2 separate regions of the Homo sapiens genome follow, and region 2 is linked to region 1. Evidence: promoter capture Hi-C in 16 types of primary human blood cells and fetal thymus (Javierre and others, 2016). All regions are on one chromosome and are shown on one strand. Each heading gives the region's core, a stretch centred on a gene start or on the middle of the fragment in contact. The rest is flanking DNA. Distances are from core to core; before and after follow the strand shown.

The links. Contacts are between HindIII fragments. The CHiCAGO score rates a contact against its expected background, and 5 or more counts as called.
Region 2: a fragment that was not itself captured here is called in contact with the fragment with the promoter of TGFB2 in region 1 in 4 of 17 cell types (non-activated CD4 T cells, naive CD4 T cells, total CD4 T cells and 1 more); the score reaches 7.0 in non-activated CD4 T cells.

What each region holds. Positions count from the first base shown.
Region 1 is chr1:218,343,569-218,347,980 of GRCh38, forward strand. TGFB2 (transforming growth factor beta 2) reads left to right here and starts at 1,768. Exons shown (of 7, transcript NM_003238.6): 1 at 1,768-3,479. The coding sequence starts at 3,134. TGFB2-AS1 (TGFB2 antisense RNA 1) reads right to left here and starts at 2,110. Exons shown (of 3, transcript NR_046268.1): 1 at 2,035-2,110; 2 at 1,607-1,820; 3 at 628-894. RefSeq lists a silencer at 1,696-1,755 and enhancers at 2,136-2,185, 3,317-3,817. The HindIII fragment of the contact is 5,586 bases long and covers 1-4,412 here.
Region 2 is chr1:219,361,521-219,365,932 of GRCh38, forward strand. It overlaps a transcript of LYPLAL1 not described here. Among named protein-coding and RNA genes, the nearest start is that of LYPLAL1, 190 kb to the left of the region's middle. The HindIII fragment of the contact is 6,407 bases long and covers 1-4,412 here.

The DNA of each region.
Region 1 (4,412 bases), core at 518-3,017:
TCAAACTGAACTCAGAGGGAGGACCTAACTGGATGAAACTACTAGTCTGACAGTAGCGCCTCTTGATTATCTTTTTCTTGGGCTACTGGGATGGTAGCTTTGCTTCAACTCAAAACTGGTATCAAGGAAAGGAACCTGCTGGTGCTGATTTATACATAATTTTTAGAATTATTCAGAAGTGGGTTGGAACAATTATTTTATTCCAGAGTTTTTCAATGTGTGATAATGGAAAAAATTCTGTATTCAAGGGAGTTTGGAAAATGCTGGGTTAAAAGAGTGAAAAGGTTTTCTCTTCTACAGGAGTTTCAGAGCCTTTAACATGATAATGTTCCAGAATGAGGAATCTAAGAGGACAGGAGAGTACCCAGTATCTCCCAAACTTGTTTGACTCCAGAATTCCTGTTTGTCAGAACATATTCTGGGACCATTGTTTCTCAGAAGTACATAGTAGGTAAGAACATAGTGGATCCTGACTGCAAAAATCCAGCTCTACCACTTACTGTGGTCTCGAACAAAGTACTTAACTTCTTTGTACCTCAGTCTCCTCATCTGCCAGATATGGATAATAAGACCCACTTTATAGGTTCATAGTGAAGATTAAATGACCATACACAACACACATCAAATTACTAAGTGTAGTATATGTTAGCTATTATTATTTTATTTATTCAGTGCTCTACTAATAACCTAGGCCCCATACACAACTGAAGTATAAATTCCAAAAGTGATAGAAAGTTCTTTGTGACTTTTCTGAACTCAGGAACATCTGAAGTAGAGAACAGTATAGAGATCTTGGGTTTGGGAGTACATTCAACAGAGTTTCCAGTTTAAATCATCTGTCTGGTCAGTATGGCTGCAGAGTCATGCCGAAATGAAAATGTTGACTTTGAGTAACTAAAGGTAAAATAAAAGAAAAAGGGAAGGTGGAACAGTGGTAAGAGTTATTCTTGTATTCATCTAATTTAGACTTAGTTGAAATTGAAAATGTCAAGTTATGAGTAGTGTAGAACAGTAGACATCAAACACTTAAAATTCCAGCTTCCTGGATTAATGCTATGGAAAGAATGAAGTTGGTTGATAATGTTTAGCCTAGCAAGAAGGTGAAGAAGAAAGCCATACAAGAAGTGGCTTAGGCAGCAAATTATAAAGGTGACCATTCATTCAAATCAGTAAAACAAACAAGTATACCTTATTCTTTAGGTAAAATTGATGGATCTCTGTTTTCCAGCAGTTCACAAACAGAGGGGTACATTGTAAACAACAAACTAACAAAATAAATTCTGGGATGGCAACCTGCTAAGGTATCCCAGAAAATAAGAGGTAGGACATGAATTTAAAAGATTGGAAGGTATGTCTTCAGTACTGGCCTGGCCCTGAGTAGACTAGTGCTCCCTCCCATAGGGGTGCGTGTGCACACATAATACAGGAGGGAAGCCTTCCCTTCTAGAGCAAGTGATTCAGCTTGGGAGGCTGTGACTGAGCTACACTAAGTAAAAACGGGAGACTTGATTGTCCTTCCTTCAACAGACCTGTCCAAAATGACTGGAAAGTAAATACCGTAAATCACTGTTGTCAGGGCGCACATTCCACCTCCTTCCTCCCTTACCCACAGCGGTCCTCATTTCCACACTCCCTCAACGGTTCGGGGAGAGCTCGTGGTCTAAGTAACGAGAGGACTTCTGACTGTAATCCTAGCACGTCACTTTGTTGAAGGCAGACACGTGGTTCAGAGAGAACTTATAAATCTCCCCTCCCCGGCAAGATCGTGATGTTATCTGCTGGCAGCAGAAGGTTCGCTCCGAGCGGAGCTCCAGAAGCTCCTGACAAGAGAAAGACAGATTGAGATAGAGATAGAAAGAGAAAGAGAGAAAGAGACAGCAGAGCGAGAGCGCAAGTGAAAGAGGCAGGGGAGGGGGATGGAGAATATTAGCCTGACGGTCTAGGGAGTCATCCAGGAACAAACTGAGGGGCTGCCCGGCTGCAGACAGGAGGAGACAGAGAGGATCTATTTTAGGGTGGCAAGTGCCTACCTACCCTAAGCGAGCAATTCCACGTTGGGGAGAAGCCAGCAGAGGTTGGGAAAGGGTGGGAGTCCAAGGGAGCCCCTGCGCAACCCCCTCAGGAATAAAACTCCCCAGCCAGGGTGTCGCAAGGGCTGCCGTTGTGATCCGCAGGGGGTGAACGCAACCGCGACGGCTGATCGTCTGTGGCTGGGTTGGCGTTTGGAGCAAGAGAAGGAGGAGCAGGAGAAGGAGGGAGCTGGAGGCTGGAAGCGTTTGCAAGCGGCGGCGGCAGCAACGTGGAGTAACCAAGCGGGTCAGCGCGCGCCCGCCAGGGTGTAGGCCACGGAGCGCAGCTCCCAGAGCAGGATCCGCGCCGCCTCAGCAGCCTCTGCGGCCCCTGCGGCACCCGACCGAGTACCGAGCGCCCTGCGAAGCGCACCCTCCTCCCCGCGGTGCGCTGGGCTCGCCCCCAGCGCGCGCACACGCACACACACACACACACACACACACGCACGCACACACGTGTGCGCTTCTCTGCTCCGGAGCTGCTGCTGCTCCTGCTCTCAGCGCCGCAGTGGAAGGCAGGACCGAACCGCTCCTTCTTTAAATATATAAATTTCAGCCCAGGTCAGCCTCGGCGGCCCCCCTCACCGCGCTCCCGGCGCCCCTCCCGTCAGTTCGCCAGCTGCCAGCCCCGGGACCTTTTCATCTCTTCCCTTTTGGCCGGAGGAGCCGAGTTCAGATCCGCCACTCCGCACCCGAGACTGACACACTGAACTCCACTTCCTCCTCTTAAATTTATTTCTACTTAATAGCCACTCGTCTCTTTTTTTCCCCATCTCATTGCTCCAAGAATTTTTTTCTTCTTACTCGCCAAAGTCAGGGTTCCCTCTGCCCGTCCCGTATTAATATTTCCACTTTTGGAACTACTGGCCTTTTCTTTTTAAAGGAATTCAAGCAGGATACGTTTTTCTGTTGGGCATTGACTAGATTGTTTGCAAAAGTTTCGCATCAAAAACAACAACAACAAAAAACCAAACAACTCTCCTTGATCTATACTTTGAGAATTGTTGATTTCTTTTTTTTATTCTGACTTTTAAAAACAACTTTTTTTTCCACTTTTTTAAAAAATGCACTACTGTGTGCTGAGCGCTTTTCTGATCCTGCATCTGGTCACGGTCGCGCTCAGCCTGTCTACCTGCAGCACACTCGATATGGACCAGTTCATGCGCAAGAGGATCGAGGCGATCCGCGGGCAGATCCTGAGCAAGCTGAAGCTCACCAGTCCCCCAGAAGACTATCCTGAGCCCGAGGAAGTCCCCCCGGAGGTGATTTCCATCTACAACAGCACCAGGGACTTGCTCCAGGAGAAGGCGAGCCGGAGGGCGGCCGCCTGCGAGCGCGAGAGGAGCGACGAAGAGTACTACGCCAAGGAGGTTTACAAAATAGACATGCCGCCCTTCTTCCCCTCCGAAAGTAAGTACTTATTTTGACTTCCATCCCCTGAGGTTTAGCTCTGCCCGGAGCTCTCAAAACCGCAGCAGCTCCCGGGATCGCCCTTCCCTCTCGCGGTTCCCGTTCGCTCTTTTCCCGTTCTCCTGTCCTTCACCCCACCACCTCCTTTTCAGTTGTATGCTTGAGGCCATCAGGCTTTAAAATGTTTACTTTCTACTTTATTTTCTCCATCTTTCCCTTCCCCCTAACAATTCGGTGCTTTAAAAGGCGTTATTCTCTTTTTCTCTTCCCTGAAGTTCTTTAGTCGGCCACCAGCTAGGAGTCAGCCCCACTCTGTCAAACTAGAGGTGCTCCCAGGGGCAGAGTTAAACTGAGGAATCTTGGTAGGTTTGTTTTCTTTGCTCCGATTGGCGTGGAGCGCGCCGAACTGGTGCACGAAGGGTTAAAAAAAGTGTCTCAAAACTAGCCTCTCCGGAAGGCGCCCCCTTTCCGTGCTGACCTATCAGCTGGTTCCCCAAGCCTTCTCTATTGTCTCTAACTACCCTAAAAATGTCAGCATCGCCGAGACAAAACCCGGTTTGGAGACCCCTCGAGAAACCTACCTGGCCCTCAGTCCTTGATGTATCATTTGCTATCACTAGGTGTTTCATTACCCAAAGGCAAAATCCTATAACCACGTTCCCTTTTCACTTAACCTGGAGTGTAGAAAGGACAACTCCGTTTCTGACTGTGTTTTAAAAGGTTTTGTTCACGTTATTTTTCAGAATACACTCAAACCTGCCTTCTTCACATCTCCAGTGTAGCAGATCATTTTTCTTACGGGTCTGTTATCCTGCTCCTGCCTTTTCGTAGGCTTCCTGCAGTTACTTCAATGCATTCCTAAAACTCAGAGTAGACGACAGCCGTATTTTTTTTTTTTTTTTTTACTGGCTTCTCTGAGAACAGTGTCCTCAA
Region 2 (4,412 bases), core at 644-3,143, 1.0 Mb after region 1:
ATGTGCTTTACCTTGCACTTTTTTTCTCAGGCTCTAAATCCAGGCTTTGGGCTCCTTCACACTCCACTTAGCCACATATTTTTAAAATATGTGCACAAGAAAGGTTGATCCGATGTCCAAGAAGTCCAAGGAGCTTTTTCAGTGAGGCCTTATTTCTTAGAAACAGGAAAAGTTGCTTTTCAAATAGTAACACACGATGACCTCCAGAAGAAAGGTGTTATTAAGAGAAAATTATTATTCACATTATTCATGACAAAAGTGAGGGGTAAAAGAACTTGAGTCTTAGAGGGATTGAGCTTGGAGAGAACTTCTGATTTTAAAAACATTCTGTTTTGGCAAATGCTGTCTTTCTGTGTCAATTTTTATATTTCTGAGAAGTAAGATCATACCCTTCTAAAACATTTAATCTCTCCTGCATTTGGAAAGATCAGCATGCTTGGCTTTGTCCCCCTGTTTGGGCCAGTTTTCTCAAACCAGCAACATACTGGGGAATACCAAAATTAAATGTTAATCCTCTTGAAAGTTCTCTCTCCTCTGCGTTTTGATAGATTAATAGAATGTTAGGAAGAGGACTCCAAGAACTTTTACTAAATCTTCTTATTCTGACACCCAAAGATGTGAAACAACTTGTCCGAGGTAACCCAGCAAGGAAATGGTGTATAGACCTCTACTCCAAGCCCATTGACTGTGTGATATGGATGAAAATGATATAGACATTTTGGACATAAAGGCAATTAGGCTTCCTATGATTTCTGCCATTTACTAATTGTGTGATCTTAGACAAATAACCTCTTGAAGACCCGTTTGCTCCTTTGTCAAATAGGAATAATAGAGTACTCCTCTCCTTCAGCTGAGAGTTTAAAGTGAGATAACCCATGGAAAGAACTTATCAGAGTTTCTGGAATAGGTTAAGCATTTTAAAACGTGCAAAAGTTGTGTAAATGAAGAACTCAACGATTTCCAAGGTGCAGACAGTATTTCTTATGTTAGTAATAAAGGAAAATAATCTTTAAGCAGAGCCTTGAAGGATAAAGTAAACTTGCCACAGGAGGACAAATGGAAGCAGGAACCCCAGAATGGGGTACGGAAGTGGCAAATCTCAACGTACCTGCAGGAAATGGCAAGTAGTTAGATTTGGACCAAATGAAAGCGGAGTATAGGGAACAATGAAAGCCATGGTTGAAAAGTGATATAGTGTAAGACGTTTGCAGTCCTGGTGAAAAAGCTAAGTTTTATTGTACAAGTAGTGAGTTTTGTTCTATTTTAGTAAGAGGAGTAACACCAAAGTTTTATTTTAGGGAGATCAACCAGTCATACTCAGGAGAGGTTAGAGGAAGGAAACAAACACTAGACTCAGGAAAATTTATTCAAGAGGCTATTGTGATTGCTCAGGCATGAGGTCAGGCAGGAAGGGGATAGATGGATGAATGCAAAAAAAAAAATAACAAAGAAACTTTTTATTGCTATATATGTTTTTCCTTTTAACACACTTCATTGTAGAACTCCGATTGTGCCTACACAATACCACCGTCTTCATTGTTTTTAAAAATCAAAGGCTACACAAACCAAACAAGCCTACCTATGTAAGAATTAAAAACGTGGCCAAAAAGGTTTAAAAATAAAATTTATCCAGCACTATTGTGAGGGGAAGTATTTAAGTAAGTTAATCTTCCAGGTCACTGAAACTGTTGCTAGGAATGTCTATTCCCTGCTTCCTCTCTTTCCTCTTCATAATCAATTATCTACTCTTGCACTGTCTAATAAACCAGCCACTATTTAGCACTTGAAATATGCCTAGTAAACACTAGATTTTGAAGAGTTAATACCAAACACAGTACGTAAAATATTTTATAGATTTTTTATATTGATTAAATGTTGAAATGATAACATTTGGGGATATGGGTTAAATACAACATATTAAAATATTTTCACCATTTTCTTTTACCTTTTTTTGACATAGCTATTAAAAACAGAAAATTATCTATGTAGCTTACATCATATTTGTATTAAACAGTGCTGATCTGCAGAGGAACTTGTAAAACTGTAAACCTGATCATGTTATTTTTGTCCAGTGGCTTTCCATTTTACTTAAAGTAGGTAAAACTTATTCTTCTTCCCAGAACCTAGAAGGCCCTAAATAGACTGATCCTTGTCTACCACTTCAAAGTCATTTTGAACCACTCATTCTCTCATTCACATAATTCTAGCCACACTGACCTGCTGAGGCAGACTCTGATGGTTGGCAACCCAGGCCCAGGCTGCCTTTCTTCTTTACTAGCAAAAGTCTAACTTTCTTCTCATACTCAGTACTCAGTGAAGGTAATATCTGGATATACACAGTTTAGTGGGGAAAATTCTGACTGAAGCAAACTCATCATGGTAATTCCAGGCTCCTGGAAAGTAATTTTCTTAGGCCCTGAAATGTGGTATGATTCTATGCAGTGAGCCACAGGGGAAGTCTGCTGAAGGCTTCTTGAAAAGTTCTCCCACTTAAAAAAGAAAGAAAGAAGCAGAGATAATCTCTTCTTCAGCAAAACATCCCTGTTCTGCATGTGATGACCAGCTAGAACTATTAATTTATCTTGGGACCCTGAGGGGATCTAGCCAAAGGACAAAGATGACAGGCTGAATATGGTGCATGAAATATTGAAAGGACTCCAATTCTTCATAATGTCATTGAACAACGCAATAACCCAAGTCTAGCTCTACTTTCTTAAGTATGATAATCTATGCTCCTTACTGTGTATATGTACATGTGTGTATTTAAATGTGTCGAGTGAGTTGAGTGTTCTGTTACTTGTAGTCAAAATCATCTTAACTCCCAAAATCTGCCTATTTTCCATTTCTCTAATACACTCTGTTTCCTGCATTTTGACCTTTGCGTTCTAGCCTTTGATCTTGAGTTTCCATAGCTGGCTCCTTTGTATCACTCCAGAATATGCCTTTCCTGATTAATCTCTCTAATGTAGCCACTACTCCCCACTCTTTTTCGCATCTTGTTGTTTGTAGTCTCTTCAGAGACTTCATCACTATCCGATCTTGACTTTGTGATTACTTTTTAGTTTGTTTTCCATTAATAGAATGCAAACTCCATAGTGTGGCAGGCACAGAGGAGAGATTCAATAAATATTTTTTGGGGAAATAAACAGATAATCTGAGATTTAAATAAAATAAAGAAATATATCACTTCTGCAGAAGAATCAAACAGTCTGTATTTGGATTTATTAATAAGTGAATTTGTATTGGAATTACATAAAATATAGTGAGTCTTTAATTTTAAACTTCTAGATAATCAGGATATCATTTTTATACACTCCATCAAAAGTCAAGTTACTTGCCTATTTGAGCTAAGTCTTTATGAAACCACTATGATACAATCACCTGATAGGTCAGAAGATTAAAAATTTAGTTAAACTGTGTTTCTTTATTCGGAAGTATTTAAACGACCTATTTGGATTCTTTTCCTTGTGTTTGGTGGAAAATCTGATAGTTACATCAGATTTTTTTAATTATTTTGTCATACTATTGATATATCCTATATTTGAAAGCATAGCAGCACAATACAACAGTGCTGCAGCAAAGGTATGATGAAGATATGTACAAAGTGCTAAGATAGTCCAGAAGAGGGATAAATCAACTGACTAAGAGGTATTGGAAAGGATTCACAAGGAGGTGATTCTAGAATCTTTTTTTTAAAGGATCAGTAAGTGATCCTCAGTTAGACAAGGTGAAAGGAGGTCGACTGGATCTCCATTTAAGTGATTTTCAGCCAATGCTTAATGATATGTACACTTTCATATGTGGATTAATTTATAATCTTCATATCTCAATGGTTTAGCATCCTCCATGCTAATTTATTTTCTGAGCCACTTAACAAAGTTGGCAATACACTTTCTGTTTTTCTGGTAGAAATGTTAGTAAAAACCAAAACAACCCAAAGGAAGGCTTCAAACAAAAGGAAAAGGAGAACCTGAGTTTTGTGGGACTTGCATGAATAGCCTTGGATCACCAGGAGTTGACCCATTTCATTTGACTGTCAATGTCAATTAATAACAGCTCTTCCCTGGATACCTCTACAAAGTTTAGACCTGGGAATGGTGCCAGACCAGACCCCCTCTTCACTTTTCTTGACAGTATTCCACAAAACCAAAATTCCTTTTATGTTTAGTCATAAAGGAAAGACTATCATATAAGTCAGAAGCACAGATGTGACCATGATATATGGGAATCGGGTCCAACACCTCCCAGGACAGCACTGAAATTTTGACATAAAAACCTGTCCCTACTCTTAGAAAACTGTTAGCTTTGTCTTTATGGCTTCTCTGGGAGCCTCAGCTGTGATCTAGTGAAGCCATAAACTTTCAGCCAACATGACTAAGACCATCTATTCAATATCTGAAGGTTGAGTGTGT